Linked DNA regions of Homo sapiens: region 1 is linked to region 2. The links are contacts of gene promoters, found by promoter capture Hi-C in blood cells and fetal thymus (Javierre and others, 2016). All regions are on one chromosome and are shown on one strand. Each heading gives the region's core, a stretch centred on a gene start or on the middle of the fragment in contact. The rest is flanking DNA. Distances are from core to core; before and after follow the strand shown.

Evidence for each region. Contacts are between HindIII fragments. The CHiCAGO score rates a contact against its expected background, and 5 or more counts as called.
Region 1: a fragment that was not itself captured here is called in contact with the fragment with the promoter of C10orf71-AS1 in region 2 in 1 of 17 cell types (neutrophils); the score reaches 5.2 in neutrophils.

The regions. Positions count from the first base shown.
Region 1 is chr10:48,537,772-48,542,748 of GRCh38, reverse strand. The region is part of intron 3 of ARHGAP22 (Rho GTPase activating protein 22); the gene reads left to right. Among named protein-coding and RNA genes, the nearest start is that of ARHGAP22-IT1, 29 kb to the right of the region's middle. The HindIII fragment of the contact is 5,085 bases long and covers 1-4,044 here.
Region 2 is chr10:49,297,245-49,302,372 of GRCh38, reverse strand. C10orf71-AS1 (C10orf71 antisense RNA 1) reads left to right here and starts at 3,480. Exons shown (of 2, transcript NR_108038.1): 1 at 3,480-3,683. It overlaps C10orf71 (chromosome 10 open reading frame 71), which reads right to left and starts at 3,203. Exons shown (of 3, transcript NM_001135196.2): 1 at 3,140-3,203. The HindIII fragment of the contact is 569 bases long and covers 3,137-3,705 here.

The DNA of each region.
Region 1 (4,977 bases), core at 253-2,752, 760 kb after region 2:
CCCATCCCCACAAAGATACCCACCCTGTGGCACTGGCACTGCCGACCCTGAGCATACTCCACCCCAAAACACTCTGGGGTGCCTGACCCCAACCCCAGCCCTCCTCATGCCTGTGGTCAGGCCTCCACTGGGCATGAGGGGAAGACAGCAATAGCCACTGGGCAGGGCCAGGAGAGGCGGGGCAGAGGCCTGGGAATCAGGAGGCAGGAGGGAGCCAGGAAAACCCACTCACAGGAGGCGGAGGCAGAGGCAGCAGGAGGCAGGACTGCAGAAGGGCCCCAGCCCTCAGCATACGCTCCACTGGCCCACTCGACTTCACTTAAAAAACACAAATTTAAAGATAGAATGATTAAGAATTTCAAGACACTAACCACAGAGCATTCAATTCTAAATGCAGAGCCCTTCAAGAGGCAAGGGTGTCACTGAGCACATGCCCTAGTTAAAGGCCATGAAACTGGCCCTGACAATGAGTTTCTGAATTTAAATGCAGGAAGTGGCCCTCTGTTCTGACCTGCTGGGCTCCATCCTGTGGGTACAACCTTCGAACATTCCTTGCTGGTCTCTTCCTGCAAATGCACTGGCCCTCAGAGCTCAAGTCCTGAGTGAGTTTGGTGCACATCTTATCATGGTCCTCATCTCATTCATAAACTTGACATCCAGAGAGGGAAAGTGGCTTCTCCAAGGGCTGGGCATGCACAGCTCCCACCACATTCTCGTGCCATGCTCTTCCCTCCAGCACCCGGCCCCTGCCCTACAGCCTTCTCCTGTCCAACCTGCTGATAGCAAGGCTCCAGCATACACTTCACAGGTGGCTCTTCCTGATCCAATACGGCAAAGGGGCCTTTAACTGAACTCCCCCCATGGAGCTCAATAGGTAATGTCACCCTTGGAGGGTGGCCTGCACCTTCATCCTTGCAGATCGAGGCCAGGGTCCCAATTAGGTGATCAAACTTCAGCCACATCTCTTGAATGATGCCAACTGGAAGGTGCCTTTAGTGTCCCACCAATAGGACTGCCTGCCTGGACCAGCTTGGCTTCCTGGGTGCATAACATGGTCTATACTCCAGTGCACTGGCCCAGCCTCTCTCTTTAGTGTGACACTCTGCCTGCCTGCCTGACCCCACAGCCTGTTCTACACAGGGGGACACTTCCATTGCCTTTGGGGGCTCCAGGATGCCGCCTGTCCTGCAGCGGGCTAGCTGCATGGATCTAGACTCCAGGCTGACTCTCAGCAGGGTCATGCTCTTAGCAGGAGGCTCAAGAAGATCAGGCTGGTGCTGGGCACCACGGTTCTGTGACACAGAGACACAGAAGGATGTGCACAGAAGTCCCTCAGATGGTGATAGCGCACCGGGCAGGAAGGGGTGATGCGCAGGAGGAGGTATGCTTGTGCCAGCGCAGAACAAAGATGTAGATAAAATTCTTTATGAGTGATCTCAGCTAGACTAAATCCCTAGATAAATTAGGATGTGGGGAGGAATGTGGCAGGGGATTAGTAGGTGGGGGTTGAATGACCCAGGTCACCTCTGAGAAACCAAACCCAAGTACAGAGCCTCCTCCAACTGTCAGCTCAGGAACCCTCTGAGACATAGGCTGCTCCCCAGAGTAGGTTCTTCCTATGCACGTGTGGTCCATGGGCCAGCTGCATCAGCATCACCTGGGAGCTTGGTGGAAATACAGACCCTGGGGCCCCACCCATGCCACCTCAAACAGAATCTGTGTTCTTGCAGTTTGTCCTGGGTGCTCTGTGTGCATCTTAAAATTGGAGAAGCAGCACTTTCAAGCAAAACAACATCAAGCCTACCCAACCCTGGACTAGGAGATCCTGAGATGTGATCCCCTCCCTCAAGAACTCCTAGTCCGGGGTTGAGTAGCCTTGATGTTGTTTTGCTCCAAAGCGCTGCTTTTAAGGTGCCTGGTTCTTTAAAAGTGCGTGATAAATTAAACCAATGAAGGAGCAATCATCCAAAAGCAGAAAGAATGCTAAAAGTCATGGTTGGGAGAGGCAACAATAACAAGAAATGGAGTCTAGTTCTCAGGCTGCAAACTGAGCTGCAAGCCAGGGCTGACTACCCATGGGCTGATTCTGGCTCACAGACATATTTTGTTTGGCTCATGCAATATTTTCAATGCACAGGATTTTACCCACTAAAAATATATAGATTTCTATAGGGTAAATTTGGGCCTGCTTCCTCCATATAAAGAATTGACAGGAGCTGGCAGGGCATGGTGGCTCACACCTATAATCCCAGGACTTTGGGAGGCCAAGGCGGGAGGATCACTTGAGGTCAGGAGTTCGAGACCAGCCTGACCAACATGGAGAAACCCCGTCTCTACTAAAAATACAAAATTAGCCAGGCACAGTGGCGCATGCCTGTAATCCCAGCTACTCGGGAGGCTGAGGCAGGAGAATGAACCCTGGAGGTGGAGGTTGTGATGAGCCGAGATTGTGCCATTGCACTCCAGCCTGGGCAGCAAGAGCAAAAGCTGCTTTTTCAGTTTATCTTACCTGCCTGATCTCTATGGGGTTAGAGTCTGTGTGTACTAGTGCACATAATAAACTCAAAAGCAAAGATGGCTAGAAAATGATGGTTATTATGTATTGGCTGACTTATTTGACACTCTTAATTATTTGTCCTGTGGGGTCATGGTTAAGGGTGAGGTGCTCAGTCTTACTGTCTGAGTTTCAATCACGGCTCAGCCTCTCCCCAGATCTGAGGTCCAGAGCGAGTCACAGAACCCTGTAAACTTCAGGCTCCTTATTTGAAAAATGGCCGTGACAAAAGTAGTTCCATGTAGGATGTTAAACGTGTTGCTTGGCACATGGTTAGTTATTGGTAAAGGCTATAAATTAGTTTAAATTAAAAAATTTATTATAAGTCAATGTATTTAAATTAATTTACAGCTATTTAACAATAGCTAATTAGCACAGCATTATAATTGCAGTACCAGAGAAAAACAACATGAAGGAATACAAGTATTTATTCCCTACATTGCTAAAATACCAACACTGATTATCAATATTTTCTATGGAAAGGTATTCAGAATGCCTAACATTTTAAAATTCAGCTAAAATATTAGACATTTCAAATAAAAAGTAAATATTAGAAGCATTAAGTGAAAACAAAAATCTGTGAAATATAAATGTTAAAAATGTTGGCCGGGCGTGGTGGCTCACGCCTGTAATCCCAGCACTTTGGGAGGCCGAGGCGGGCGGATCACGAGGTCAGGAGATCGAGACCATCCCGGCTAAAACGGTGAAACCCCGTCTCTACTAAAAATACAAAAAATTAGCCGGGCGTAGTGGCGGGCGCCTGTAGTCCCAGCTACTTGGGAGGCTGAGGCAGGAGAATGGCGTGAACCCGGGAGGCGGAGCTTGCAGTGAGCCGAGATCGCGCCACTGCACTCCAGCCTGGGCGACAGAGCGAGACTCCGTCTCAAAAAAAAAAAAAAAAAATGTTACCCTTCTCATACTAATTGTTAGCAGATGACATGAATAAAATATTATTCAAAAGTAATGAACTAAACCCTACAAGATAAAGAAACTTCTAATAATATTTGGAATGAAAATCTACTATTTGATGTTATCTGGATCATGAGCATATTTTTGTGCCCATTTTTTCCGGCTGCTGAAACCTTTTGTTTACTCTAGGCTGGTCAAGGCAATGGTGAGACGTTCCAAGCTAAATTTCAAACTAATTTCCAATATTATCCTTTGAGTTTTTCATCTTCAAGTAATTCCATTTCTTCTTCCCCACTTTAGAAGATATCTTTTATTTTAACCTCCCTTCTTTTTTGTTGGCAGGAACTACATTTTTTTATTTGATCATGAGCTTTAGTTTTATTTCAGAGAAAGCATTCCTGGTTTGTGGTCATCTTCTCCAGTGTTAATATGGGTAGGTGGAGATGCCAGTGTGTCACCTGGAGCAAATTCCAGGCTGGAAAGTCTCTGAAGCAGAGTGAAGATTTCTATCATGATGGAGGCAGCGTAGTTCCCCTCCTTCTGGGTTGTGGAAGAATAGAAAACTGCTTTCTAAACAAGCTTTCCTTTACTGGATCCAAACGCCTACTGTAGTGCATTCCCAGGTGTAAATGGTTCTAATTTTTAAAAAACATGTCACAAAAATACTAATAGTTCAGCATTTCTCAAAAGCACATTATTCTGGAATACCAGAATCCCAAAAACTGGAATTACAATTACTGAAAAACACCAGGTCTGGAGAGTCTTCTGCTAGTCCGTTGCCTTCGTGGGTTCCAAGAACATAGCTCTCCCTGATGCTTTTCTGTTGACTTGAGATTGAGGGGACAGAGTTTGGGAGGCCAAGGTTAGGAAAGAAGGGAAGTTGTTGTCTTGAGTTGAATAGTGTCCCCCAGAATTCATGCAGATGCAATGAGCTAAGAGGAGGTAATCCTGAATTAGAGCGGCCCCAAATCCAATGGTTGGTGTCCTTAGAAGCAGAGGAGAGGACAGACAGGATGCACAGAGACACAGAGGGAGGAAGGTCATGTGAAGACAGAAGCAGAAGCTGGGGGATGGGTCTACAAGCCAAGGGTTTCTAGGGAACCTGGAAGTCACCAGCAGCTGGAAGAGGCAAGGAAGGATTCCTCCCTCAAGCCTTTAGAGCTCCACCGCGATCCTGGACTTCTGGCCTCCAGAACTCTAACCAAAGAAGTTTCTGTTGTTTTAAGCCACCCAGTTTGTGGGAGTTAGTTATGGCATCCCTATGGAAAACTCATACCATTGTGGCATTGGGAGTGACACTGCCAGGGCCACTGGCCCTCCGCAGCAGGGCCCATGCTCACTAGTCTTGGAATCCAGTCCACACTCTCAGGGGCCGGAAGACCAAGCTCCTGTTCCTGCTGTCCACTCCTGGCGGGTCTCCCATCTTCCTGCACCCCCTCTCTGCCTAGCACCTCCATCCATGCAGCATGCTGCTCCAGCCATGCTGTATCATTTACTTGGCCCGAGGCACTGCC
Region 2 (5,128 bases), core at 2,231-4,730:
CTGCAGTCTTCGGCTGATCTGCCTCTGAGGGTGGCAGACACAGCCAGGTGAGAGGATGAGCTGGTGGTGCTACTGTGGCTTGGCAACCCGGGACATGGCAAGCCAAGGGGCAGCTCCAATGTGACCTGGCATGAACTGGCCCTCACAGGCAGGCTCAGTGGTGCCAGATCTGGAACCAACCTCCTGACACAGTGGGGAGTAGGGAGAGAGCCTCAGAAACTCCTTCAGAGGCTTCCCAAGCAAATTGGAGAGCCTCCCCTTCCCCCTGCCCTCCTCAAGCTTCAGGTGAAGGCTTTGAGGTGGGAGATATCCCAGATGAAATCCTTCCCTCCAGCCATCCTTGCAGCTCCTCAGCAGCTCAAGCCCACCTGGGAAGGGGGTTAGTAGTGAAAGAAGGGACTAACTGAGGCAAGGGAAGACAGCCCAGAGTGGGGTGGGCCAAAGGAGCCCCTGGGATTGGCCAAGCAGAGAATGGAGGACGCAAGGAAGGCCTGCCCATCTGCCATGTGTCATGGCCCAGAAGAACGTCCCTTTCCCCTTCATCTAAGACAGGGAGGTCCCTAAGTCTGGAGAGGAAGCTATTCATGGTTGATTGGTTGTTGGGATTTTCTTTCTGTCAGACTTTCCCCAGGCTGTCTGACCTGGGCTTAGAAGGGAATGCACTTTGCACTGAGCTGGCTTCAGTCTTTCTCCTGAGAACCCAGGTCAGCTGAGTTCTGCTCTTGCCTCCCCTTGACTTTAGGAGGCTGTGGATTAATCACACTGTATTCTTCCCACAGGCAGCCCCTTCCAGGGAATGTTCCAGAGTGATACCAATGACTTAAATTGGGGGTGACACATCTGAACATCAGCATGTGCTCTACATGCTCCATGTTTGGGTCTTGATAGGCCTCCACTGATCCCTTGTCCTTCCCGCTCTGTCCCATCCACTAGCTCATGCCATGCAACCCTTGGAAACCAAGTAGAAATGAGGGGGTGTCTGAGATTTTTCCAATTAACTAAATGAAGCATATGATTGAGATAAAGACTATGGACTGGCTGGATTTTGTGAAATGAGGTTTAAACTCTCAAATGGAAATAAAACCAAAATCCACTCCAGCCTCGATGGACCCTGTTGGGGAGCAGCAGCCCTGTGTGCCCCTGTAGCGTGGCCTTCTCTCAAAGCCCTTTGCTTCCCTCCAGTAACCCAGGGCATATGGAGTAAAATCCCAAGAGCCAATGAGGAAGACGGCCCAGTTCTGGTGCCACCAGCAGGCTTGGGTTCTTGAGATTTCTGGCAGAGACTGGAGGAATAGGGCTATTTCAAGACATGAGGCCTCCCCTCTTCAGTAAGGGTCTCCAGGGCTTCCTTAGGGTCAGGAAAAGACAAAGACACTTACTTCTGTCCTGGCAAAAAGAAATCAAGGTGGGAGGATGCAAGGCCATCTCTGGCCTTCCTGTCTACTCTCAACAGCTTTCTCTCCCCAGGTTCCAGGAGACCTAAGCCCCTCTGCTCCAGGACACAGCATTCTACCAGCCCCCTTCTTACCCACCGCACACAGTTGTTCCCTTCCCAGTGAGCTTCTGGTCATCCAAGAGCAGACAAACTTGTTCCCAGAGACCCAGGGGCAGATGTGTGTTGGACTTGGGTCACCCGGGGAAGGCTATTTATAAATCACCCCGATAAGCACAATCTGCCCTGCTCAGCCCAGGCCACATGGACACGCTGTGTGTCTGGTGATTCTACTGCTAAGCTAACCCTCCCAGCACCGTGACAGCAAACTGGACATTTCCTGTATCAGCCAGGCCTAAAAAGTGGGCCCTGGAAGGTGCAGGAGGCTCAGGAGCCAGCCAGCCACTGGTCCTGAAGGGTCTGGCTTACAAACTATTCTAACAGCAAGAACTTTCACTGCTTTTTTTTTTTTTTTTTTTGTATTAAATTGACCCATCTCAAGATGTGTTCTTGTAACACAGTGGTCAGCAAACTTTTTCTGTAAAGGGCCACATTGTAAGCGTTTTCAGTTTTGCAGGCCATATGGTTTCTGCTGATATAGTGTAGAAGCAGCTTTAGACAATATGCAAATGAATGAAGGTGGCTGTGTGCCAATACAACTTTATTTACAAAACCAGATGCTCAGACCACAGACCAGAGTTACCAGCCACTACTGCAAAGGGAACTCAAATGCTGGAAAACAGGACCTCATTTACTACACACATCTGTTTAATCTGCTTCCCAGGTTCCTATACTTAGGGAGCTACCTGAAAGGCCTACACAATGATTTTTCTTAAGGCTATCTAGCTTTCCACACACATTGACCACTGCCGTTCTCAATGTTCAATTCTTCTCCACCAGAAAATAAAAGAGGTAATTTTAGACTCAGTCAAGCATACCCTGTGGGAGTCTGGTGGGGGCCCTCCCAGGGTGTGTAAGAACAGGCAGCCTGTGGCGGGCTTTGTTTTGGGGACACACATGCTCGCAGAGCCCACAGGCCAGAACGTCTCAGTCACCAGTTTTTCTCTTTGTTACAGCTGGTGTGACCCTGCCTGGCCCAGCGCTGGGGGAGCTAAGAAAGCCAGCCTCCCTCAGCCCTGAATGCTGAAAACCTGGGACCATGGGGTCACCCATTTGACAGCGCAGTGGCCTGGGCACATCTGTGCACTCAGCCATGTGGGAGCAGAGATCCCTGACAGATGACACCTAAGGACAAAGTCACACATGTACACGGTTCCGGGTACGTGGTCCCCGAGGCCCATCCAGCACACCAAGAACCTTAGCCCCAACACCAATGGGCTCCCGGCACACACATACCACCCTGCACAGCACCCTGGCACCGAACTACTTCCCCAGCACAGCATCGGCCCAGCGGGAACATCCCTCCCGCCATGAACTTGAGCCTCCCTGCCCACGCTAAGGAGCCAGACAAGTGTCTGGGCTGTACCTTCCGCTCTCTGCGTGTCCAGCTGCTCAGGCCTCCTCGGGAATGGGAGAGAAACCCGGCTCTGCCCAGCAGCCAAGACTTCTTTCCTCTTTATCCAGGCTGCCCAAAGGTGATAGGAGAGTGGATTCAGGACCCAAGCCTCCTCTAGCTCACAAACCTACCCACCTGAGGAAGATCAGTGACCAGAAGCCGGCCAGACACGGGAAGTCCGCGAAGCTTACCTAAATAGAGACCCAGCCGGGGGAAACCAAATGGTGTTCTTGGTGGGGAAGAGGCAAACAGTCCGCACTGCAACACCCGCGTGGTGTCAAGTAACAGTCAGATTAAACAAACAGCCTCAGCTGCTATTTTTACTTCCAAATCAGCCACGAGTAACAGATCACTTGGGGAGTGAGAAATTGCTTGCCGCTTAGCCGGACCCTAACCACGATTCCAACTTCAATCCAGAATGATTGCTAAAGCTATTCCAGCACCTAGAGTCAAATAAAAATATCCCGAGGTGGGAAGGAAAACATTTGTTTAGGGAAACATTAAAAACAGGAGAGTGTGTGCCTTGGAGCCAGAGCCCAGAGCCCTGCTGATGTCCCGGGGCAGAAATAGCCCGTTTCATCATCGGCTCTGGACGACCGCCGCCCGCATTCCTCGAGTAAGGAGCCGTCCTCTGCTGTGCTTTTGGAGCAGAATAATCTGCAGCTAGGGGAAGGCCAGGCTGGGTCTCAGGGTGAGAGTTACAGAAGGATATGAAATAATCGGGGAAGAGGCAAGGTAAGTGTCCACTTGGTAAGCTTGGCTACAGCAAGCCCGGTTGTTTGCAAAGTCCAAGCACCAGTGGACAAGTCCCGTTCTGCCAGGCTCCCCTCTCCACCTCTGGGAAGGGCTGGCCTCCCTTCAACCCTGAGGTGGGCTCATGCCTGCCTTCCCAATGGCTGCTTTCTGTCTCAGGCTGGGGTCACCTGCTCCCCAAACTGCCCACAGATCCCCCAACTTTTTCCACTGGCTTTTCCTTGGCTTGTGCCATGCCAGCTCCCAGAGTGCCTTCCTTACTCTCCCAAGCTGGCCCTAGGATAGTCTGCTTGCTACCAGGATTTAATGCAAGAGTGGGTTTTTTTCCCCCTTTCTCTCCAAGGTTCTTTTTTATGCTTCCCTGACTGTGGCCTGAGAAAGCGGAGATGACTGGCCCCCGCTGGGTGTCCTGCTCTGTGCAGCGCTCAAAGCCTCTGCAAGTTTGCAGTGTGCTGTGTCTTTGGGTCTATTTGTAGACTGTCCCTTCTGCCCCTGTGGGCTCTTCAAGGGCAGCAACCTGTGTCCCAGCCCCAAGCTGGGGCCTGGCACCACCTCCAGCCTTGAACCGGCTGACAGCCAGGGCCACAGGGACCCAGGTCTATGTACTTTTGTCTAAACCAAGTCACAAAGAACAGCTCCTCCTTGCCCTGCAGACTAAGGTGTGAGATTCCAACCAGCAGGAGCATTCAGACCCGCCTCCTCCTGGGAGCCTCAAGACTTGCCTTTTGCCCTGAGAGCTTCAGAACCTCGCTGTGGGGATGATTACTTGCTGCTCCGCACTCAGAGATGCTTTGAGGGAGGCCCAAAGTGAACCCCTCAATTTTACCCACCCACCTCCCTACCTCCCCATTTGCCAAAACAAACGCATGCCAAAAGGTCAGACAAAAGCCATCAACTTGAGATGGGAGCCAACATTTAAAAAGTACACAGGATTTTGAGCCCTGGCTCCATTATTTCCTGGTCAGTTGACATGTCACATACTTACCCTTCCTGAGCCTCAGTTTACCCATCTCTAAAGTGGAGAGAATGCCTGTGCTCTGTGGGATTCAGGGTCAGGGGAGCTCATGTACATGAATATGCTCGTCTATTGCAAAGCTTCCCAAAATGTTAGTCATTTATTTGTTATTTTTTCCCATGATTTTTGCTACACCTCAACCATCTGTATCAACATTTACTTACTATTTTCCTTTAAAGAAAATTTAAATTGACTTGCTTTTTTTCTTGAACAGAAGAACTTTATGGAAAACAACAATACTTAATAGATCATGGATTTGACATATTTGTTAATTTCCCTCCCTCCCAGTACACATTGAAACAAATTTACAGTCAGTTCATATGTCATCTGTTTGACCCAAATCATTTTGTTCCAGATGTTAGAAAATGTTGCATTACTAAACCTCATTTTATGGAGGAGTTTGCTTTGGGGT